Regions from separate parts of the Homo sapiens genome. Here regions 1, 2, 4, 5 and 6 are each linked to region 3. Evidence: promoter capture Hi-C in 16 types of primary human blood cells and fetal thymus (Javierre and others, 2016). All regions are on one chromosome and are shown on one strand. The core of a region is centred on a gene start or on the middle of the fragment in contact, and the rest is flanking DNA. Distances in the headings are between cores, read along the strand shown. Region 1 overlaps SLC39A11 (solute carrier family 39 member 11). Region 2 overlaps SLC39A11 (solute carrier family 39 member 11). Region 3 holds the start of COG1 (component of oligomeric golgi complex 1). Region 4 overlaps SLC39A11 (solute carrier family 39 member 11). Region 5 overlaps SLC39A11 (solute carrier family 39 member 11). Region 6 overlaps SLC39A11 (solute carrier family 39 member 11).

What was found. The method cuts DNA at HindIII sites, captures the fragments that hold promoters and counts their contacts. A CHiCAGO score of 5 or more calls a contact.
Region 1: a contact is called between a fragment that was not itself captured here and the fragment with the promoter of COG1 in region 3, in 3 of 17 cell types (M1 macrophages, M0 macrophages and M2 macrophages). The highest score is 6.2, in M1 macrophages.
Region 2: a contact is called between a fragment that was not itself captured here and the fragment with the promoter of COG1 in region 3, in 1 of 17 cell types (megakaryocytes). The highest score is 5.2, in megakaryocytes.
Region 4: a contact is called between a fragment that was not itself captured here and the fragment with the promoter of COG1 in region 3, in 1 of 17 cell types (M1 macrophages). The highest score is 5.3, in M1 macrophages.
Region 5: a fragment that was not itself captured here is called in contact with the fragment with the promoter of COG1 in region 3 in 1 of 17 cell types (M0 macrophages); the score reaches 5.2 in M0 macrophages.
Region 6: a fragment that was not itself captured here is called in contact with the fragment with the promoter of COG1 in region 3 in 1 of 17 cell types (M1 macrophages); the score reaches 5.9 in M1 macrophages.

Annotation. Positions count from the first base shown.
Region 1 is chr17:72,826,474-72,830,693 of GRCh38, forward strand. The region is part of intron 6 of SLC39A11 (solute carrier family 39 member 11); the gene reads right to left. Among named protein-coding and RNA genes, the nearest start is that of LINC00511, 190 kb to the left of the region's middle. The HindIII fragment of the contact is 3,642 bases long and covers 179-3,820 here.
Region 2 is chr17:72,701,470-72,705,189 of GRCh38, forward strand. All of the region lies in intron 7 of SLC39A11 (solute carrier family 39 member 11), which reads right to left. Among named protein-coding and RNA genes, the nearest start is that of LINC00511, 63 kb to the left of the region's middle. The HindIII fragment of the contact is 7,138 bases long and covers 1-3,720 here.
Region 3 is chr17:73,191,180-73,195,351 of GRCh38, forward strand. COG1 (component of oligomeric golgi complex 1) reads left to right here and starts at 1,876. Exons shown (of 14, transcript NM_018714.3): 1 at 1,876-2,205. The coding sequence starts at 1,891. RefSeq lists enhancers at 1,103-1,862, 1,148-1,197, 1,828-2,107 and a silencer at 2,158-2,367. The HindIII fragment of the contact is 5,644 bases long and covers 589-4,172 here.
Region 4 is chr17:72,882,991-72,886,872 of GRCh38, forward strand. All of the region lies in intron 5 of SLC39A11 (solute carrier family 39 member 11), which reads right to left. Among named protein-coding and RNA genes, the nearest start is that of SLC39A11, 210 kb to the right of the region's middle. The HindIII fragment of the contact is 1,760 bases long and covers 500-2,259 here.
Region 5 is chr17:72,749,043-72,753,010 of GRCh38, forward strand. All of the region lies in intron 6 of SLC39A11 (solute carrier family 39 member 11), which reads right to left. Among named protein-coding and RNA genes, the nearest start is that of LINC00511, 110 kb to the left of the region's middle. The HindIII fragment of the contact is 2,059 bases long and covers 237-2,295 here.
Region 6 is chr17:72,925,106-72,928,869 of GRCh38, forward strand. The region is part of intron 5 of SLC39A11 (solute carrier family 39 member 11); the gene reads right to left. Among named protein-coding and RNA genes, the nearest start is that of SLC39A11, 170 kb to the right of the region's middle. The HindIII fragment of the contact is 6,640 bases long and covers 1-3,764 here.

The DNA.
Region 1 (4,220 bases), core at 750-3,249, 360 kb before region 3:
AAACCTGATTTTTTCTAAGCTAATTGGAACTATACTTTCTTTCAGAACAAGGGAGAGACCCTTTAGAAAAGGGTTAAAATCAGGAGTCTGTAGATCCAGGCTGTTTATAAACTTCCTGACATTTTATATAATATATCATAATTATGCATATCACAGGAAGTTAGAGAAAGATTCCTTAAGCTTGATTGGATATACATGGCGATCGTAACCCCCAAAGTAAGAACTACTATTGTGGACACTTAACTTACAACAAGGTATGATAAACACGTGAAGAATGCTCACTGCTATTAGTCATCAGGGAAATGCAAATCAAAACCACAAAGAACTACCACTTACAACCACTAGGATGGCTATAATAAAAAAAAGCAGATAATAACAAGTGTTGGTGAAGATGTAGAGAAACGGAACCCTCCTATATTGCTGATAGGAATGAAAAATGGTGCATCACTTTGGAAAACAGTCTTACATTTTCCTCAAAAGGGCAAATATGGAGTTACCAAATGACCCAGCAATTCCACTACTAAGTTTAGACCCAAGAGAAATGAAAATGCCGTTATACAAAAACTTGTACATGAAAGTACAGAGCAGCACTATTCATAATAGTCCAACAGTAGATATAACCCAAATGCTTATTAACTGATGAATGGATGAACAAAATGTGGTATAGACATATAATGGAATATTATTTGACAACAAAAGGAAATGAAATACTGATACATGGATGAATTTTAAAAACACTGTGCTAATTAAAAGCAGTCAGATACAACAGGCCACATACTATATGATTTCATTTATATGAAATGTTCAGAATAGCCAAATTCATAGAGACAAAAGTAGATGAGTGGTTGCCTAGGGTTTGTGGGGGAGGAGCTGGAGGGAAATGGAGGATAATTGCTAATGGGTAGGGGTTTCTTCTGGGGTAATGAAAATGTTCTAAAATTTATAGTGGTGGTTGCACAATTTTGTGAATATTCTAAAAATCATTAAACTGTACACTTCAAATGGGTGAATTGTAGGCTGTGTGAGTTACATTTTGATAAAGCTGTTATTAAAAGAAAAAAGAAAAGAATATGTGAGCCTATTCTCCATCTAAGTGGCCCACTCCTCTACCCCAGGTGGGGAGACACCAGGAAGGCTTTGGGAAGGGACCAACAGGGGTGCATGGAAAACATGAGTTTGATATGAAGGAAAAATGCTATTGCCTTCAGCCATCTCATTCTCACCCTTGGATACAGATCCCTCAACCAGGGAAGGAATAACTGTCTTTAAATGCACTGAAGAGGAGGTTCCCATGGAGACTGGGGAAGTTAGCATAAGACTATCTTCCATGATGATGAGGAAAGACTGAATACACTGTAGCACAGGCACTCGCAGACAGACCCCTGGCCAGGTTACTGTGGGACAGGTGCCCAAGTCCATAGAAGAGAGAACTGTAATAAAGCAAGAGGGAAATACAGTTTCTTTCCCAATCAGGCAGATCCACGGCAATGCTGCTTTGAGGCTTCACGTGGGCAAGGAAGACACACTGGGCAGTGATACATGGATTTCTGCTAGCTGCTAAAGTGGTCCCATCCACTCAGGTCTCTGATAGTGGTCCTCTGGCCACAACTGTGCCAAAATAAAATAATACATGCTATGGTAGGAAATTAATGACCTCCTAAAATGTCTATGTCCTAATCTCGAGAATCTGAATATGCCGTGTGGCATGGCAGGGAAAACTGGGGCTGCAGAAGGCACTAAGGTGGCTAACCAGCTGACCCTGAGAGGAGTTATCCTGGATTATCTGGAGGATCCCACTGTAATCATAAGGGTCCTTAAAATGAAAAGGAAGGTAGGAGAGTTAGCAATAGAGTAATGCAATGCAAGAAAGATTCAACTGGGCATTGCAGGGGAAAAGGGGACCATGAGCCAGGAAAGGCAGGCAGCCATGGGAAGTCGGAAAAGGCGAAGAAATTGATTCTCTCCTAGAGCTTCCAGAAAGCATGGCCACAGTAGGAGTGAAATGGAGGCACAGAGAGGGGTATTTGTCTCAAGCACACAGCTATTAAGTGGAGGGGCCACTGGGATTTGAACTTAGATCAATAGACCCCAGAGCCTGTGTGCTTAACTAAGGACCCTAAAAGACTATTCCAGCCTGGTGAGCTGAGTTCCTGTTTGAGAGGAGTCTCCGCAGCCTGAGTCTGGGGGGTTTTCGCACCTGTGGGCCATGGGTGCCCCCGGGGAGGTGGACACGCTGCAAGGTGGAGGTTGTGTGCCACGTTTCCAGGACACCATATGGCCCCACCCTGGTCCAGGTGCTGCTGGAGCAGGACCTGTGCTGTCACTGCTCTCTGACACCGCTCCACTGTCTCCTCCAAAGGCTCCCACCCTGGTGGGCTCTGCACCCACAGATTTGATGAAACTCACAGGAGTCAAGCATCGGAGAGTAGTGACTGGGGGTTGTGTGTGGGGAGATTAAAGACATTTATATTTTTCTTTCTCACGTAAGATGAAGACTGGCGTGAAAGCACATTTCTATTTTCAAAAGTTAGGTTTGGTAACACAGTGCAGAGCAGATGGATGAGGAGAAAACGAAGCAACAAAAAAAATGGGCCTCAGCCAGGTGCGGCGGCTCACACCTGTAATCCCAGCACTTTGAGAGGCCGAGGTGGGAGGATCACTTGAGCACAAGAGTTTGACACCAGCCTGGGCAACATGGCAAAACCCTGTCTCCACACAACAAATGAATGAAATGGTTTGCTGGGCACACCTGTGGTCCCAGCTACTCAGGAAGCTGAGGCAGCAGGAGGATCACTTGGGCCCAGGAGGTGGAGGTTGCAGTGAGCCATGATTGCCTCACTGCAGTCCAGCTGGGAGACAGAGCGAGCCTCTGTCTCAAAAAAAAAAAAAGGCCCCCTCACAAAGCAGTGGGGCTGGAAAAGGGAGATGGGAACTAGAGGTGGGGGAGATGGGAGCCGGTGATCAGTGGGATTTGGTGACCAACTAGCTATGGAGAATGAGGGACAGGGAAGAGCTAAGACAACTATGGGCCTTCCAGCTCAAGGGCAGCTGGGCAGAAGTTCAGGACTTTAACTTAGAGGCAGAGGGAAAGGGAGGATGCTGAGAAGAAAACAAACATGCCGAATTAGGGCAGACATGCTCAAAGGGCCAACCAAAGTACATGTCTGGGATTCCGGACAGATCCGGGTCCCTCCTCTCTTCCCCCTTTCCATCTGTTAAAATCCCTTGTCTCTTCTACTGTATAAACCACCCTGGTGTCCCCATCCTCATGGGCCCCCATGGCACTCACACCCCTACCCAGTTAATGTCCCCTCCTGTCTGCTCCTGATGCAGTTTTCTCCACGTCACTAGTGTAGCCACCTTGTTCCCCTCAAAGGTGTGTTTTGAGCCCCCCACTCAGCTGAAATGCCCCCGGACTCAGTAAAGGAACAGAACTGAGTGTGTTCAGGAAGTTGACCTAGGGGAGGAGGGGATCGGTGCAGAGTCAGGGAATGGGGAAGAGAAACAGGTCAGAGGGCTTCAGAAAACCTGTGATGCTACTCATGATGAATATGCAGGAAGGAAGGAGAGAGGAGAGGAGACAGACTCACAGAAGGTATGAGGCCATGAGGAAATGCAGACATGCACACATGCATACACATGTGATTCCTCAAGCTCCCAGCAGGCTTCCAGCATCAGGAGCTAAAATTGCTACCACTGATAAATGAAAAATTTAAACTCCCCACTGGGAAGGAGCATTTCAAGTACCATTCCTGGATATCGCCCCCTCCAATTCTTCTGTCCACTGATACGCTAGCATAGAGCAGATGTGATCATTTGAAGCTTCAACAAAGAATCCCTTGAAGATGACTGTGTATTTTTTTTTTTCCTAAATCAGGAACACCAGAATTAAGAGGAAGGTAGCCATGCAAAACTCAACACTGTTTGTCAACGTGGGTACTAACTCGGCTGTGTCTTGGATAACACATCAACTTGGTAAAAACACACACAGAAAAGAAAACACTTTCTTCCAACTGTCAGAGCAAAAATCCTTTACTCTTCTGTCCAGCAACCTGAACAAAAACAAGGGAATTTGTGGCTTGGTTTCCTTTACAACCTTATCTTCACTCCAGGCACCATCCCCTGTCTCTAAGCAACAGGGCACACTTTGGAACTACCAGGAGGCAAAACCCAGTGCTTATCCTGAGTCTTTTAGGACTAAACAAATCAGGGCAGAGCAA
Region 2 (3,720 bases), core at 241-2,740, 490 kb before region 3:
TGTAATCCCAGCACTTTGGGAGGCCGAAGTGGGCAGATACCTGAGGTCAGGAGTTCGAGACCAGCCTGGCCAACATGGTGAAACCCTGTCTCTACTAAAAATACAAAAATTAGCCAGGTGTGGTGGTGCATGCCTGTAGTCCCAGCTACTGGGGAGGCTGAAGCACAAGAATTGCTTGAACCTGGGAGGCGGAGGTTGCAGGGAGCCGAGGTTGTACCACTGTACTCCAGCCTGGGAGACAGAGGGAGATTCTGTCTCAAAAAAAAAAAAAAAAAAAGAAAAAGAGAAAGAAAGAAAGAGAAAGAAAAGGAAGGAAGGAAGGAAAAGAAAAAAAAAAAGAACATAGACACGCAGAGTGTGGTGGCTCACGCCTGTAATCTCAGCACTGTGGGAAGCTGAGGTGGAAGGACTGTTTGAGCCCAGAAGTTAAGTTTGAGACCAGCCTGGGTGATATAAAGAGACCCCATCTCTATAGAATGTTTAAAAATTAGCCAGCTGTGGTGGTGCCTGCCTGTAGTCCTGGCTACTCAGGAGGCTGAGGTGGGAAGATTGCCTGAGCCTGGGAGATGGAGGCTGCAGTGAGCTGTGATCACACCACTGCACTCCAGCCTAGGTAATGGAGTGAGACTCTGTCTCCATAAAATAAAATAAAAAAGAACATAGACATTTCTCAGGGTGGACAGATCACTAACCTTGGATATACCAATCCACATGCTCTCATAAACTCGCAAGCTAACCCTATCTTCCTGTGTTCTACTGAGTCCAAAGATAGGAGGCTACTGTTTTTTTCTTTAGGCAGCACCTAGCACAGTGGCTGGCACATAGTAGGCCTTCAAGTGCTTGAAGCATGTACTACCTAGGGTGGTGGTCTCAACCAGGCCAATTTGGACCCCTAGGGAACAGTGGGCAATGTCTGCAGACATTTTTGGTTGTCACAACTAGGGGGAAGGCATCTAGTGGGAAGAGGCTAATGCACAGGGCACCCCCCGCCTACAACAAAGAATTATCTACCAGATGATCAACAGTGCCAAGTTCTAGAGACCGACGGTCTTCCACTCTACCAAATGAGTCATCAAAGTACACGACAGTGCCAAGTTCTAGCAGTCATATTTGCACAAAAGCAGGAAGGGTCCATGGGAGAGTATGGGAATTCCTCTTTTCCAGGGAATTTTAAGAGTGGATTCCAGCCAGGCATGGTGGCTCACAAATGTAATCCCAACACTTTGGGAGGCTGAGGCGGGTGGATCACTTGAGGTCAGGAGTTCCAGACCAGCTTGGCCAACACGGTGAAACTCCGTCTCTACTAAAAATACAAAAATTAGCCAGGTGTGGTGGTGCATGCCTGTAATTCCAGCTACTCAGGAGGCTGAGGCAGGAGAATCGCTTGAACCCTGGAGGTGGAGGTTGCAGTGAGCCAAGATCACGCCACTGCACTCCAGCCTGGGTGACAGAGTGAGACTCCATCTCACCAAAAAAAAAAAAAAATGGAAGAAAGGAAAAAAAAAATTGATTCCCTCTGTCTTTGTGGGGTTGGGAGTCAGAAAGAAAGAAGACATAAATGGGCTGCCTGATCTCCTAAGCTCCCTTACCGCCCCATCACCAGACACCAGAGCTGTCGGTTGGCAGGTCTTCATCTGTCTGCCTCTTCCTCCCACTTGGGTTTATTTTATAGGCTTTTCCTGAGATATTAGGGGGTTTCCATCAGGAGTGGATCCCTTCCAAACCACAAGGCAATGAAAAGTCCTGCATGTGGGACTGATGTGCTGGTGTGTATGTGCTTTAGGAGCGAGAAAGACAGCAACATAAACCCTGTGCATCAAAGCCAAATCCCTCTACACTCAAGTTCCAACTTGCAGAAATTTTTATAGCCAAGTAATGATATGCAAAGCTGATGGCCTTTTAATTATAGCAGTTCCGTGTGGGGAGAAATAGGAGAACTATTATAATAAGGAGACACAGTAAGCAAAAGAACACCTTTGAATGGGCATTTTCTTGCTGGGGTAAAGGTAACATGGGGGGTTGGGGGGCGATACCCCACAGGGTTCCAAGCATGTCACCCACATTCTTTGTCTTGACAATATGCCCGTGAAACACACAGAGTAAGGTTTCCTGCCCCCACTTTTCTGATGATCTGTTTCTCCATGGCCAAACTGAAGTCCAGACAGATTCAGTCCTTAAATCCATTTTGGAAAACTGTTAACATCCATGGCCAACCAAGATCAACTCAGAGTTTTCAGAAACCAAGAACCTGAATGAACATAGGAGATGTTTAGCTATCTTCTATCTCAGTGTCTCTTTGGGAGAGGCTTAGAAATTAATTTCTCTGTTTGATGATCCCTAAACAGAGGAACCCACCTCAAAATAAGACAAACTGTTGGCCGGGGGTGGTGGCTCATGCCTGTAATCCCAGCACTTCGGGAGGCCGAGGTGGGTGAATCCTTTGAAGCCAGGAGTTCAAGACCAGCCTGGCCAACATGGTGAAACCCCATCTCTACTAAAAATACAAAAATTAGCCGGGCATGGTGGCATGCGCCTGTAGTCTCAGCTACTTGGGAGGCTGAGCCATGAGAACCACTCGAACCTGGGAGGTGGAGGTTGCAGTGAGCTGCGATCATGCCACTGTACTCTAGCCTGGACGACGGAGTGAGACTCTTTCCAAAACAACAACAACTATTATTTTTACCAGAGCATACCTGCTATTTGCCCAAACACTGTATGGAGCATTTTAGACATATCAACTTGCTAGTTCATGTAATCTTCTTATGGGAGATAAACTATTATCATCCCTCACTGACAGATGAGGAAACCAAGGTACAGAGATCTCGATTCACTTGTTCAAGACTATGTAGCTAGTAAATCGCAGCACCTCGATTTGGACCTAGGAAGTCTGACTTCAGGGTCCTTGCTCTAATGTGGTGCTAGGCTCCCTTTCTGGAGAACAGCTCCCCAGTTTTCCCATCATTTAGATTAAAGAAGTCAAAGATGCGGCTAGATTCACTGGTCCTAAGGAATAACAGTAAAGATGAGGATGTATGTTGACAAATCCCTTTTATTTGATACGCTTTTCAGTGGGTCCTGCAAGGCCCTGAATTTTATGGTAGACTCTATGCATAAAGTGATGCTGTCCCTCAAAAAAGCCAAAGCGCCATCTGTGTGCATTTTATCCACAAACCAATGGAATCAACCATGAAGGACCAGGGGTATGAAGGTCCCCTCTCATACCTTAGCATGACCTGGCAGTTCCCTGGGGGGTCCTCTTCCCCTCTCAGTCCATGTGGTTTAGCTGGAGCTCCAGTCCAAGCTCTAGGGATAAACTGTGACCCTACCCTGAACAATGGGTGCAACTCCATCTCTCTAGCCACAGTGATTGGTCCAAGAGGGAGTAAGTGGCCCAAGTTGGTCTATTAGGATTCCAAGGGAGCTATTGAGAGGAGACGGTCTATTTTGTTTGGACTTGAACCTGGGAGGATATAGGGCTGGAGTCATTAGCAGGAAGCCATCTTAACACCATTAGAAATGGGCAATCATGCCTATGCTGAAGAGAGCAGAGCTGAGGGAGAGAAAAAATAAGCAGAGACCTGATGATATAATTTGAGCCTCTGGACCAAACTGTGCCTGAAACCAGCATCCCAGACTCTTCAGGTCCATGAACCAGTAAATTCTCTTTTTAGTTTAGGACAATATGAATTGTGTTTCTGTGTCTTGCAAATGATATAAATG
Region 3 (4,172 bases), core at 626-3,125:
AGGGTATCACCATGTTGGCCAGGCTGGTCTCGAACTCCTGACCTCATGTGATCCGCCTGCCTCGGCCTCCCAAAGTGCTGGGATTACAGGCATGAGCCACCCGGCGCGCGCCCCTTTTTTTGTATTTTTTTGTAAGGACGGGGTTTGGCCGTGTTGCCCAGGCTGGTCTTGAACTCCTGGGCTCAAGGGATCCACACGCCTTGGGCTCCCAAAGTGCTGGGATTACAGCCTGCTTCTTAATGTCACTAACTCTTCACCCAAGTCCTAGGCGCTTGTGCCTGCTGTGCCAGTCCCAGGCCGCAGGCTGGCACCGTAGCTATAAAGGGCGCCAGAAAAAAAGATTTTGCTAGATAGCGATGAATTCCCCAATCACAGAAAGGAGATACTGCGGATGCTTATCAGCCGAATACCAGTAAGTGTCCCTTGCAGAATGGGATTAGAGACTGCAAACTGCAGGCCTGCCAACAGAGGGTGCTCTGTGGGAAATTATGTGAAAACGTAGAAAAGAGCGCGAGCCAGTAATTTAAAAATCGACGTCCAAATACTCACTGGGTCACCTATCAGCTATGTAATTTGGGCAGGTAAATAAGCTTTTGTTTCTTTTTTTTTTTTCCTCATAAATGGACTAGGAATATTACTCCTACCTACCTGGCATGGCCGATGTGCGAGAAAATGAGATAATCTCGTGGACAGGCTCTGAAAACTGCACTTTTACTGAGTAAAAAACCCTTTGCCTCTCCGGGCCCCCGTTTCCCCATCTGTAAAATGAGTCTGTAAAGTGAGAATGATACTCCCTACGCCGCAAGGCTCTTGCGGGTTAAACTGGAATATTATAAATGCACCATTTATTTGCAGATTGAAATTCTGTGCGTCCGGAGGTGGCGGGTGGGAGAGGGAATGAGCAGGGATGCAGGGTAGGCCCTGAGTTGCTGGGGGCTCAGCATGGCCGCTGCGCACATTGCATCATTTTGTCGACACTGGTGTGGGTGAAATCTTCCAAAAGAAATTAAAACAGAAAAAAAAAAAAAGAAGGGTCTGGGACTTAGCAGAAACAAGCCACAATCTCCAGATTCTACTATTCCTGGGCCACGTGAGGAGCGCCCACCCGTCTGGCGCTGCGTTCCCCGGGGCGTCCCAGCCTCTCCCGCCCAGCCCGCCGCCCTCCTCCCCCATGGCCACCAAGGTCAGGCTCTCGCAGGGAAAACGTCTTCAGGGGCTAAACATCGGTTTTAAACGAAATGGAAAACCTCCAACACGAATCAACAGCAGAGGAAAAGCAGACGCCAAACAAGCGCTCAGAACCCCTTCAGGGGCGGCGTGGTAGCTCTTCCCGGGGAACAGCGAGGGGCGCGGATGTCCCTCTTCCTAAAACTGCACGCGGGGTGCGATCCGAGACCCAGCGGCGGCGAGCGCGCCCGAGTCTGCTCGCGGGCGCCAGGCGCGCGGAGAGCGGCGGCTGCGCCTGCGCCAACGCCGTCAGTCCGCGGGGCCCGATCCCGACACCTAACTCCACAGAGAAGCTCTGCTCCTAAGGGAAAGGGAAGACTTCAGCCACAGTTTCGCAGCCAACCTGGCGACCTCACCTCTCTGGCGACCTCACTTCCCAGCCGGCTCCGTTTAAGAAAACCCCGCGCAGGACCGCGCCCGCCCCCGCGCCCGCGCCCGCCCCCGCCCCCTCGCGCCCGCCCCCTCGCGCCCGCCCCCTCGCGCCCGCCCCCTCGCGCCCGCCCCCTCGCGCCCGCCCCCTCGCGCCCGCCCCCTCGCGCCCGCCCCCTCGGGTAACAAACATGGCCCCCGGCGGGGCGGAAGCGCTTCCGCCCCCAACGAAGATGGCGGAGGGGGCGGGACTAAAAGGGCGTAGGTAGATCGCCGGGGGCTGACGAGTGCACCATGGCCACCGCGGCAACCTCACCCGCGCTGAAGCGGCTGGATCTGCGCGACCCTGCGGCTCTTTTCGAGACGCATGGAGCGGAGGAGATCCGCGGGCTGGAGCGCCAGGTTCGGGCCGAGATCGAGCACAAGAAGGAGGAGCTGCGGCAGATGGTGGGCGAACGGTACCGCGACCTGATCGAGGCGGCCGACACCATCGGCCAGATGCGCCGCTGCGCCGTGGGGCTAGTGGACGCCGTGAAGGCCACCGACCAGTACTGCGCCCGCCTCCGCCAGGCCGGCTCGGCCGCGCCCCGGCCACCGCGGGCCCAGCAGGTCAGTCCCCGTGCCCCCACCCTGCGACCCGCAGGCGGGTCCCGGAGCCCCTGGCCTTGCAGGTCAACCCCGCCCCCCTCTGTCAGTCCCAGACCCCGCGAGTCCTCACCTTCCTTAGCCAGGAGCCTATCCGCCCCTCACCCTTTGGGCCCCCCTCAGAGGACAGTGCCAGCCTTCCTTGCACATATGCGGCTGCTGATCCGTTCTGGAAATGCCATTCAACAGTTTCTTCAGGCGCTTTCCCCCGACTTCCGGGCCTTGATTCCTACACCTCACTGGGCTCCTTTCAATTTTAGCGGAAAACGCCAGGAGTTTCTGTCTTGACAGTTCAACGCTCACCTATATAACATGTCCTGACATTGTTTTTCCTCAGGTTTCTCCCCTATGTTGACACCTGCACTCCAAGTCATTTCTTCCTCATCCCAACCTTCCCCTTATCTCCCCAAGAATAACTTCCACAACCCCAAATAGCTGTTCTACCCTTTGGGAGTTGTTGAGGGTACCAGCTATCAAGCCCTTAACTTTATGTATGTATGTGACAGGGTCTCCCAAAGTGCTGGGATTACAGTCATGAGCCACCACAGCCGGCCAAGCCCTTACCTTTTAATAGCTGAACATTTTCATTTTCAGAACTAAGGCTTTTTTCATTCAGGTTCTCCTTATCCCGTGTTCTTCCCCCCAAACGCTATTGATTAGACACAATGAGGAAGGATGGGAGGTAAACAAACACATCCTCATATTGGAGCTGCAGCTTGCGTTCCTAAAGAATTTTTATTGGCCGGGTGCGGTGGCTCACGCCTGTAATCCCAGCACTTTGGGAGGCCGAGGCGGGTGGATCACGAGGTCAGGAGATCCAGACCATCCTGGCTAACACGGTGAAACCCCGTCTCTACTAAAAATACACAAAATTAGCCAGGCGTGGTGGCCGGCGCCTGTAGTCCCAGCTACCTGGGAGGCTGAGGCAGGAGAATGGCATGAACCCGGGAGGCGGAGCTTGCAGTGAGCCGAGATCGCGCCACTGCACTCCAGCCTGGGCCACAGAGCGAGACTCTGTCTCAAAAAAAAAAAAAAAAAGAATTTTTATTTCTTTATTTTTTGAGACAGGATCTCGCTCTGTCACCCAGGCTGGAGTGCAGTGGCGCGATCTCGGCTCACTGCAACCTCCGCCTCCCGGGTTCAAGCGATTCTCCTGCCTCAGCCACCCGCGTAGCTGGGATTACAGGCACCTGCCACCATGTCCGACTAATTTTTGTACTTTCAGTAGAGACGGGGTTTCACCATATTGGCCCGGCTGGTCTCCAACCCCTGACCTCATGTGATCTGCCTGCCTTGGCCTCCCAAAGTGATGGGATTACAGGCGCGAGAGCCACCGCGCACGGCCCCTTAAAGAATATAGACCTAGCAATGAACGAAGTGAAAGGGCATGAAGGGTGAAAAAGGTAAACAGTTAGTTGTTTTTAACAGCCTGGGAGAACTTACTGGGACATAGAAGAAAAAATTGAAAAGTACAGTCTAACTCCAATTTGGAACTTGTTCATGCTATCTGAGCTTTACAGAAATCCTGGTCAGTAGACTGGACTGACACAATAAAACTATAGGAAGTTGCAAATAAGTTTGCATATTTTTGAAATGAGTGACCTCATCCCTCCCAAAGCTAACATTTAGTACACGTGTCCCCTTAGGTGGCCAGCCTTTGCTGTAACTGAGTCATGCTTCAGGGTTTATTAAAACGCTAACTTGAATTATGCCTGATTTTAGAAACGTATTGATTTTCATAGTTGTTATATCTGGTTTATTCTCGGTTAACCCTACAAAAATTTGAGTGTCTTCTTCGTTCACATTACAAAGAAACAGAAGTCCCCCAATTCCTGCTCTGAAGGAGCTTACAACCTGGTCGAGGAAATAAATCCATGGAAACTTGACGAGAAAAAAATGTAAAAAAATTTAGAATAACAGGTCAGGCGCTG
Region 4 (3,882 bases), core at 130-2,629, 310 kb before region 3:
TTCATCATGTTGGCCAGGCTGGTCTCGAATTCCTGGCCTCAAATGATCCGCCCACCTCGGCCTCCCAATGTGGTTGGATTACAGGCTGAGCCACCGTGCCAGGCCGAGAAAATGCTTTTAGGTGGAATTATCATGAGGGTTCATCACGCAGTCCTGCATCCTTAAGGCATACTGGCCTAACATAAGCATGGGCGCATGTGAGTGGAAAGTGCATAAAACACAGCCAAGTCCATATTCTACGCAGAGCAGGCCTCCTACTGTTAACACATGTGCACTGGAGTCTACCTACCCTCACAGGCCTGGATGTTACTATAGCTCTGTTTTCTCAGTATGCTTCCTCTTCAAATCCTCTGTAACCACAGATGGCTGCTGCCAAAAACCTGGATGAAAATCACAGAGATGACCCAGTGCAGCGCCATCTTTATGACTGAACCAGTTGAGGTACCTCCTGGGTAGTATTTACATGATGCAAAACATGCTCAAGCATCGCCAGTACTGAAGCTTTTCAAGGTTTCATGGTGGCAGAAGCTAGCCAGTTAATTACACGGAATCTGGGAAGGCAGGTTCTAGTCTCTGTTCTCCCGGTGGATTGTGTCTGATTCAGGGTCAGGTGACTACAATTTCTGAGGCTTGACTGAGAAATGACCGAGGAATCCCATTCATTTGTAAGGGAGAAACAGCCAATAAAAATGTATTCTTGTCTCATCAAAAAGACTTGGTCCAGGGGAAAGCCATGAAGATGGCTATTATACACACCTCCATCCCTCCTTATTGTGGAGGGAAGGGGATGCAATCTGTATAATATCATAGTGTGAAAACTGAAGTTGGGCCCAAGTAGGGCCTGGTCTTTAATCCAATTCTGCCCATAGAAAGGAGAATCTGGGCTGGGTGCAGTGGCTCAAGCCTGTAATCCCACCACTTTGGGAGGCTGAGACAGGTGGATTGCTTGAGCTCGGGAGTTCCAGACCAGCCTGGAAAACATGGCAAAACTCTGTCTCTACAAAAAATACAAAAGTTAGCTAGGTATAGTGGCGTGCACCTGTGGTCCCAGCTACTTGGGAGGCTGAAGTGGGAGGATTTCTTGAGCTGGGAGGTCAAAGCTGCAGTGAGCTGTGATCACACCACAAAACTCCAGGCTGGGTGACAGAGTAAGGCTCTGTCTCCAAAAAAAAGAAAGAAAGAAAGAAAGAAACCTTATAAAGGACCACAGTGCCCCTGGGCCTGCTAGGCTGCCCACAGCTTGGCTCACAAAAGCAGCGTTGTCACTGTGGATGGCCTCAGGCCATGTTGGTCTTTGTACTGTTGCCCAGCCATTTGCAGGGCCAGTGCACTATTCTAAATTTCATTTCAAACAATGAATCCTCAGAGCGTTCATCCCTTCCATTCTGTTATCTACTGCAGTGCAAGGCTGTGGCTCAGAAAGTCTTTAGCTTGGAAGACATCTAGCTCCATTAAAACTGCAGCAATTATGACTACCTGGAGGTGAATAATCTCCTCTTGGCTTTATTTAATGTTCAATACAAAGAAACAGTCACCCCATTAAATTTACCTGCGCTGTGTCTCGCTTTGGATTTTTCAGGTAGTCATTGGTTCTAAACTATCATGTTCAGTATCTTAAGGACCAGACTATATTACTATGGTGAGGCAGACTGGCAGGAAAGCTCTGGGATCTATCTTGAACATTAGAGTTTAATAAAAAGGAAGGCATGAGATAAACTGAAAAATATAAAATAGGAAATCGCTGCAGCAGCATTCTGCATTCTTGAATAGAAAGACTGGAAACCTTAAAGCTACTAAGTCTTTTCAAATGGATAGCTTTAACATAATTCCACTCAAAATCACAACAGAATTCTAAAACTGGACAAGGGAACTCTAAAGCTCTTCTGAACAAAGAAAAATGCATAACGAGAGGAACTCATCATTAAATATAAAGTGGTAATATTAAATGAGTCTTTCTTGCAGTAGGATACTTAACTTTCTTCAGATTTATCATCCCTTTAAAAGGCCTGTTTTGACAAAGGGGCTGGAGCACTTGAATGATTTGTGTCTATGTTTCTAGAGTACCATCAAAACACAGCAATTCTTATCCACTTGTGTCAAGGACTTCTGATGATACTTGTAGGTTATCGAAATGGAAGATTTCCTGTGGACTAGGATTTGGATTCTAAAAATCAGCTTATAGGTTTTCCCTGCAGCTCCAGACAGCTATTCCTCAGTTTTTGCCTCCTCTCTATATTGGAATTAAACAGCTTCCTATGAAGCTTGGAACGTCAACGCTTTCTGCATACTCAACTCCAGTTTCATACTTTTGCAAATCAAGCATTGGTTCTGTGCAGCTGAGTCTATTCCAAAGCGAGTAATAATTTGATTAGTAATTTTTTACAACTCTCTAATCCTGTAGGCTACGGGCTCACCTCTTGCAATCACCTAGTTCCCACCTAGACCCATCCTGCATTCACTGAAGATTCCAGCAGCATTATTCAGGTGCCACTATTCATGTAGATAAGCCATCTGCCTCACCTCCAATGAACCTGTCCTGTGCACCATCTCAACCAACTAATCCCAAGGGCACTACTTATCAGATCTACCTCTAAAATCTCAATGGCAGGCATTCCAGGTGTTGAACCACCTGCCTGCTATATTTATTTCCAGCTCCTTTCTTGTGAACGCTGGATCCAGTTCTTTAGTACCACTGGCACCTCTGTGCCATTGGCCCAGCCACCTTTTTACTCCAACCTCCCACCTATGTCCACACTTCCCCCCTCATCAAGCAGTGGCCCTCGCTAGAGCCACCCTCTAGCAAATACCTACACATATGCCTACTTAATGCCGACTCTCCATCTATTCTGCACTTGTCGCCAAAGAGTTGAATGTAATTGGAGAGAAACCTACTGCCATGATGCATCTCCACCATTCTACTGAGACTGCTTTTGTCGGGGTCACCACTGGTGCCCATGTGGCCCAATCCAGTGCTCCCATCTCAGATCTCAGCTTGCTCATCCTTTCAGCATTTCTTTCACATGTCTAGTCAATTCCCCTCTTTTTGAACATCCCTCATTTGGCTTCCAAGAAACCTTTCTCCCCCAGTATTCCTGCATCCTCACTGGCAACACCTCTGCTCAGTTCCCTCTGCTGGATTCTGTTCCACTTCCCGATTTCCAAATGGAGGACCCTGGTGCTCGGTCCTCAGTGCTCTTCGCTCTCCTGCCTACACAGGCTCCCCTGGGCAATCTCAACCAATCTCATGACTTTCGTCATTCCCAAATTTATATCTCCAACCCCAATGTCTTCCATGAACTCCAAAGTCATGAATCCATCTGCCTACTTGACGTTACCACTTGAGTATTCAGAGGCATCTCAGACACAGAACTTTTGTTCTTCCAACCCAAACTTGTTTTTCTCCAGCCACTCCCTGTAAATCACTCAATCCCAAAGGCTAAGAATCCTCCTCCTCCTTTCTCCTTCTCTCAGAGTCCTTACCTATCCGCAAATCCCATCAGCTCAACATTCAACTCCGCCACTCTTTCTGCAGCTCAAGCTATCCTCCCCCACTACAAACGCATCCTCCAAACTGCTGATCTGGATTCCACCCTTGTCCGCCAGCTCCCAGAATCTCTTCTCCACATAGCCACCCAAACAATACTTTAGAATGTGTGTCAGCTCATGGAACTCCCCTGAATAAAACCTCCTGATGGATTCCTGTCATACTCTAATTGAGATCTGAAAGTGCTAGTGGTCCCTGCCCGCTGGAACACTTGCTGGACACCAGCCTCTTGACTGTCCCTCAAATACACCAAGCACCTACAAGCTCCAGGGCCTTCTCACGAATGCTCCCTGTGACCCGGATGCTCCTTCTGACTGGAGTGCTCCCTCCTAGGGTGC
Region 5 (3,968 bases), core at 16-2,515, 440 kb before region 3:
TAGTTTTGAGGTCAAGGGACTAAGCAGAAGCAAAGAGGCAGGTGAGGTAGGTTCTGACTCAGTGGGGGAACCTGCCGTCAGAAGAGCTGCCATCTTGGAAGACACAAAAACTCAAGATTCCCTCTGCTTTGCCCAGCAGGGAATTATCATGAAATCCCTGTGCCCTTTGAGTGGGGAGGGCTGCTATCTGTTGCTCCCAAACACTCTGTTCCACCAATGAAGCCGTGGTGTAGAAAAGCTTGCAACCCGGTAGCAAAGTTCCTTGACTCTGAAGTCAGAGCCTCATCAATCACCTGGCCACTGGGCTTCCTCTCCCTACGTCCAAAGTCCACGGCAGGCAGGGAAGTGTCTGGATCTGACAGATTCACTGTATGAAAGTGGACAGGCTTATGTTCTGGGGAACCTTGTATATTCACAACAAAGTTGTCTGGGAGGCTTAGAAAGCAGGGACAACCTAAGCAGCTCTGTAAATATGAGGACACAGGACGAAGGAAGCATGAGGCAATGAGTAGTGTGGTCAGACGGGAATTATTTTTCCCAAGACAAGCCTATTTTGTGATAAGTGGGCCCTGGGCAGCAGAGGTGGGCAGGCTCTCTGGTCCCCTTGGGAAACCGGGGCTGCAGATGGAGGCTTTGCTAAGTGCCACCCCACCCTAGACAGTGGGAGCAGTCCCCAGCCCCACACTGCACACCGAAGGCAGGAGGTCTCTAATCACTGGTCACAGGGATCTCTCTGCTTGATCCTAGGAAAATGCTGCCTCTGAGGTGGGTAGACCATTCCAGGAGGAAGAGGGGAAAGCATGGCTGAAAGCACCTCTATGACTCCAGGCTCAGATTCGTAAAACACTAGATGGAAGTCGTACCAGGAATTCAGCCACACATCCCTCCTGGCTGGGAAGGCCTGCAGCTGAGAGCACACGCACAAAGAGACACAGGCTCCATTGGCCCAGCCTCTCACCTGGCTCATGAAAAGATCAATGCCAGGAGTTCTCCACAAAGAGACTGGGGATTCCTGGGGCAAGGCACAAGCCAGATGGGTCGAGGAATCAGGTGAACCTCTGCAGCAGGTGGGTGGCGCCCATTCTGTGCCCCTTGGGAGCCAAGAGAGTCACCCTGGGAATTATCCCACAAGAGGGTCTCACATCCCCAGGAAGTGGATGGCCACTGATCCCTGCTATTCCTCCCCCAAGTTCACATGAAGAGGTCGTGCAGTCTGGGTCCCAGGTTGGACCCGATTGCCTTGTCAAAGGGAAAGGCAGCCTAGGGCCAGATACCTCGGAACCACAACCACATCGCCTGTGATTGGAGCCTCACCCCATCCCACAGGCCGTACATGGGCATCATGAACTCTAGCACACACTTGACTATGGAATACCTCTGGAGGTGGGGTGGGGGGTGGGGAGGACTTATTTATGTTTTTGTAATTTGCATGTTCTTGAGGGCCTAAAAAAACTGGAGGAAAGGATTTTTTTTTTTTAATTCCCTTGGAGGACTTTCGAACAAAATTAGACTCTGGCAGTTCCTTCAGGATGATGAATAACCTAAGATACAGGTTCATTTATCACTCCCCACATGTGATTCCCACCAAAGTATTTCTAAAATCCAGGCAAGAAAAAGATTCTGAAGTCTCAGATCACTAGTATGTTTTGCTACATGGAGGGCAGGCATCATACCACAACGTATGTATCCAAGGGAGGGAGGGGCATTTTTTCCTACAAGCAGAAGTATTTCAATTGTTAATGGAGGAAAAAAAAAAACTGCCTTCCTTACACATCCCAGTTCAGCAATTGTCAGGCTTCAGGTGTCAGACGGCAGCCTGTCAGCGCCCTGGGATAGGCCCCGTGTGGTCATGGCCTTGTTGGTCATGCCAAGATGATGTCTGAGAAGCTGGCATTATGGCTTAGCTCAAAGAGAAGGCAGGAGGCTGTGCATGGTGGCTCACACCTATAATCCCAGCACTTTGGGAGGCCAAGGCGGGAGGATCACCTGAGGTCAGGAGTTCAAGATCAGCCTGGCCAACATGGCAAAAACCCCGCCTCTACTAAAAATACAAAAATTAGACGAGCGTGGTGGTGGGCGCTTGTAATCCCAGCTATTTGGGAGGCTGAGGAATGAGAATCACTTGAGCCCAGAAGGCAGAGGCTGCAGTGAGCCAAGATCACACCACTGTACTCCAGCCTGGGCGACAGAGTGAGACTCCATCTCAAAACAAAAAAGTGAGCGTACAATATTGGTGTGCTAACATATGATTATATAATCAGGTTGCTATATGAAGGTAAGGAAAAACAATCCTAAAGCTTCAAACTCTTCCCATTTGAAGAAGACAGTTCTAAGAATCGTGGCCCCCATCCTCTCATCGTCTAGGTTTTAATTAGGTTCTTTCCTTCCTTCCTCCCTTTCTTATTACCATTTTTAATTGTGATAAAATGTGAATGAATAACATGTAATTGAGCATCTTCCTCATTTTTAAGTGTACATTCATTGGCATTAAGTGCAATCACTTTTGTACAGCCATCGCCACCACCCATCTCCAGAGCTCTTTGGTTTTTTTTTGAGACAGAGTCTTGCTCCGTCGCCCAGGCTGGAGTGCAATGGCATGATCTCAGCTCACTGCAATCTTCGCCTCCTGGATTCAAGTGATTCTTGTACCTCAGTGATCCCAGTAGCTGGGAGTACAGCCATGCATCACTATGCCCGGCTAATTTTGTAATTTTGGTAGAGACAGGGTTTTGTTATGTCAGCCAGGCTGGTCTCGAACCCCTGGCCTCGAGTGATCTGCCTGCCTTGGCTTCCCAGAGTGCTGGGATTACAGGTATGAGCCACTGCACCCGGCTCCAGAGCTCTTTTTATCTTGCATAATTGAAACTCTCCACCCACTGAACCCAGATCCCCATTCCTCCTCCTCCCTCCCACAGCCCCTGGCAACCATCCTTCTACTTCCTGCCTCTGTGCCACTGACTCCTCAGGTGTCTCGCAGAGCAGGACTCACACAGTATCTGTGATGCCCTCTTTCTTATGTCATATTATCCCCTTGTGTCCCTTCTTCATTTTGTCAGGGGGCCTCCTTAACCTCCTACGGGATGTGTGGGTGATAAACTTCTGAACCCTGACATAGAAAAGAAAAATTTTGATTTTTCTCTGTGACTTAATAGCTTGACTTGAAAGTGCTGCATCCCAAGTTACCTCTCCTTAATATCTTTTTTTCTGTTTTTTCTTTCTTAAGATGGAGTCTCGCTCTGTCACCCGGGCTGGAGAGCAGTGGCGTGATCTTGGCTTACTGCAGCCTCCGCCTCCCGGGTTCCAGCAATTCTCCTGCCTCAGCCTCCCAGGTAGCTGGGATTACAGGCACGCACCACCACGCCCAGCTAACTTTAGTATTTTTAGTAGAGATGGGGTTTCACCATGTTGGCCAGGCTGGTCTCGAACTCCTGACCTCAGGTGATCTGCCTGCCTCAGCCTCCCAAAAGTGTTAGGATTACAGGTGTGAGCCACCACGCCCGGGCCTTAGTATCTTTTTTCTTTTTATTTATTTTTAAGACAGGGTCTCACTGTATTGCCTCAGCTGGTCGCTAACTCCTGGGCTCAAGTAATCCTCCTGCCTTGGCCTCCCAAAGTGCTGGGATTACAGGCATGAGCCATGGTGCCTGGCCTGCTCAATGTCTTGAGGGTATTGTTCCATCATCTTCCAGTATCTGATGCTGCTGCTGAAAAGTCTGATGCTAATTCCATTCTCATTTCCTTGTATTTAAGAAGACTTTTCTCTCTGGAAGCTCTCAACAATTTCATCTTTGTTTCTGGAGTTTTTGTTGGTGGTGGTGTTGTTTTGATTTTTGAGATAGGTCTCACTCTGTGGCCCGGGCTGGAGTGCAATGGTGCCATCATGGCTCACTGCAGCCTTGACCTCCTGGGCCCAACCAATCTTCCCACCTCAGCCTCTTGAGTAGCTGGGACCACAGATGCATGCCACC
Region 6 (3,764 bases), core at 465-2,964, 270 kb before region 3:
TGGAATTTCAGGATGGCCATGTGGATGCGCTTCTTTCTCTTTTGAAATACAAGTGCTCACTGGGGTTGGCCTATTCCTGTTCTTCCACGACGGACATGTGGACCAGGTCACTTATTTTGGTTCACAGCTCTCTAGATGAACAGCAACTAAATCCAGACCTGCTGATAGAATCTCATGAGATCCTGAAATTCACACCTGATTCCATGATTACATGCGAATTTTTAGGTATCTTCCATGAGTCAGAAATGAATTTATGTCGTATATAAATATACAAAATGATATATAAGATGATTATTTATGACCAGGAGGGAAGACTGTAGCAGACTGTATTATACAGTCATCCCTTGGTATCCGTAGGGATACCTCCTCCCTCCCACAGATACCAAGATCTGCTGATCAAGTCCCTTGAGCCAGCTCTTCATATCTGTGTGTTCCTCACCACGGATGCAGAAGGCCTACTCTATTCACAATTATTCATGTCTCCCTCCCCTTAGTAGATGTTTATGTCCCCACCTGGAATTGCAGTACCTGCCTATTGGCCAAGCATACTTCCCTGTACAATGTCAGACTTTGCCATATGATTTGTTAAGCAACAGAATGTGAATGGATGTGAACACTCCACATCCAAGCAGAATTCTTCAAGGACGTCATGAGTTTCCACCAATTCTCTAATTCTTCCCCTCCACCATGACATTGCACATGGCCACAGGGGCTGCTGTTTCAGCCTGGAATCCAGAAGGAGAAAACAATGTGACAGAGATACAGCCAACCTGCAGCCTGCATGTTATTTGGAAGCAAAATAAACCTTCAGGATGGCAAACCACTGAGATTTGAGGTTTCCTTGCTGTGAGGCAAAGCTGACTTAAGCAGCCTGTTCCACCCAGACAACTGAAATCAATGCTTAAACTCTTAGCAATACACAATCTAATGCAAGGAATATGCCTGGGGTCCCATGTGAGCCCTCAGGCTTTTAAATCCTCATCTTTCCTGGGAAGGAGACATAGAGCTCAATTGGTTCCATATAAATGCTTCTTCAACTTTTGAGTAAATTCCATCATCTTTGTGAGCCATCTAACAGTGAAAGTATTAACAATGAAATTTTAAAAAATCAAATCATAATTTCCTTTTAACCAGCCATGCTTTGAATGACAAATATGTAGAGAGTGAGTTTGTTCTCATCTCTCTTCTCACTGCATTCTTACTGTAGCCTCTCACCTAACCTTGTTGGCTCCAGAGACCAAAAGAAAGTCAGCTAAAGCCACAAAGGCCAAATGGACATGAGAAAATGTCTGAAAATGCAATATCAGGGATTGTGTTTGTCTTGTGAAGTCCTTTTTGCCCCTCAGGGAAAAATGACTGGAGGCTCCTCTGACTTCGGAGTAATTGCTTTGAATGTTTTGGGGGAAGATATTTTTTCTGGGGATGTTGCTGTTGTTGCTAAAATGATGTCCATCCAGAAAAACATAAGATTGCCTTTGTTTTTAAACTTGATTATAAACCAGCCCTGAGAAGCCTTCTAAGAGACTTCCATAAGTCTTTTGAATAATGCCATCATTCCAAGTTGACCATTTCCAGGGAGCCCAATCTCGTTTGCCAGATGAGTTCTGCCGTGTTTGTTCACATACCAGCTTTATTACGTTTTAATTAGTTGTTATCTTTGACCCCAAAAAGGGATTCCCGAGCACCTCAGAATGGAGCTCACAGGCACTGGTAGGCCTTAGTGGCCCTTTCTGCTCCTGACCCCAGGGGGACACCTGGGGATCAAGCTGAGGTGAGAAGCAGACTCAAAGTCTTCTGTTCACAGATAAATGCCCCACGTGACCTTGCACGGGAATTACTGAATAAAAGAGACCACTACCCTGATTTGAACAGCACCAGACACAGAGCTGTGAAAGAAAATGCCTCTTACAGATGACAATGTCCGGTTGCCCAGTCCTGGATTTGTTTTATTTATTTACTGAGACAGAGTCTCCCTCTGTCGCCCAGGCTGGAGTGCAGTGGTGTGATCTTAGCTCACAGCAACCTCCACCTCCTGGGTGCAAGCAGTTCTCCTGCCTCAGCCTCCCGAGTAGGTGGGACTACAGGCGCACACCACCATGCCCAGCTAACTTTTATTTTTATTTTTGGTAGAGATAAAAAAAAAATGGGGTTTCGCCATGTTGGCCAGGCTGCTCTTGAATTCCTCCTCTCAAGTGATCCACGCACCTTGGCCTCCCAAAGTGCTGGGATTACAGGCATGAGTCACTGCGCCCAGTCCCAGCCCTGGATTTGAACCAGTGTTCACTGAAGCATTTCCAAGCCTGTTGTTGTGCCTTCAGGTATATGAAATTCAACACATATTCTAAAAAGGACCTTGCCAATGTTCAGTAGAATGGAAGGCCATCCCATGAGTTTCAGAAACACTGATGCTGCTTTAAAACAAAAAACTCCCGGTGATTATAAGGCTTACCTGGAGTATCTCAAATATTTCAGTAGCGAAAATTCAAAGACAAGGACCAGCAGGAATGCCAATTCCATGTTGCAATCACGCCTCCCCACCCACAAGCATGTTATTAGTGTGTGCTTCCAATGCATAATTACCTTTCATTTTCCCATAGAATTTCAGGAAAAAAGAGCACAGGGCTCAGATGGTTTGTGAAATCAATAGGTGATTTCATCTCTTACATGCAAAAATAATCAGTTCTATTGAGAAGGAAATGTATACACACACACACACATACACACACACACTACACACACACACACTGGAAAGCCCACATTCAACAGTCAAGGTCACACACACAGGAAATATTCATGAAAAGGGAACATTTGTAGTATCATCCTGAGCCATATAGCACAGTCCAAAGTACATGGGTTAATAAAGGGTTAATAAAGGAAGAAACCATCTCACTCTCAATAAGGCTGAATTTGATGTGCTCAAATAACACTGATTGCTCCAAAAAAAAAGATAAAATTCCTACAAAGAGGAGGATCCCAGGCCTAACGATTGGATTCTTTTCTAGACAACTGTAACCACCCTCTGGACACTATAAAAGAAAACAAGTATCCAAAATAGCAGGATGACTATTTGTAATTACTGTGTAATTGTTGGTTTTACATGTCTGTCTCTTCCTGGGCTTAGTGAAGGCAGAGACCAAGTTCACTAATTGGATTCAGCCAAGGAGAGCAGTTGGCTCCATGAAGTATGAATGAACAAATGAACTAATGAAAAAAAGAACACGTAAGTTCTGTACCAAAGAAAGAGGAAAGAAAACCATGAATCCTGGTAGTACCAATCCTGATTCTATCCCACCTGCCAGCAAACAAGAAAACAAAGGGACCATCAGGAATTCTTCATTTAGTCCAAGCTCTGAAAAGAGAAAATAATTCCAAAATGTCATATTAAGAAGGTAAGGAAGACATGAGAATTTGAATGGAAGAAAACAGAGCAGTGGGTGGGAAAAAGTGGAGACTGAAATCTTACAACCAGGAAGTGTAGGCTGTGGCTTTGAAGGAAAAAAAAATTGAATTTCCAGGTTCCCAGGGCCCTGATAGTTGATTCTCTCCTTCACTCTCCTGCTTTGAGTCTACGTCAATAGACTCTCACAGCCTGAACCTCCCTGGCCGTACCTCAAGCATTAGAGCAAGATTGAAAAGGCTTCTAGATAGAGGTGATACAAACAAAGGGAAGTGCGTGCCTCTGGGAACCGAGCAAGAGTTTTCATCACCAAGGATCTTTGGACCCTGACAAAACCACAGGTAGGCTTCATTCATTTCACTCAGTC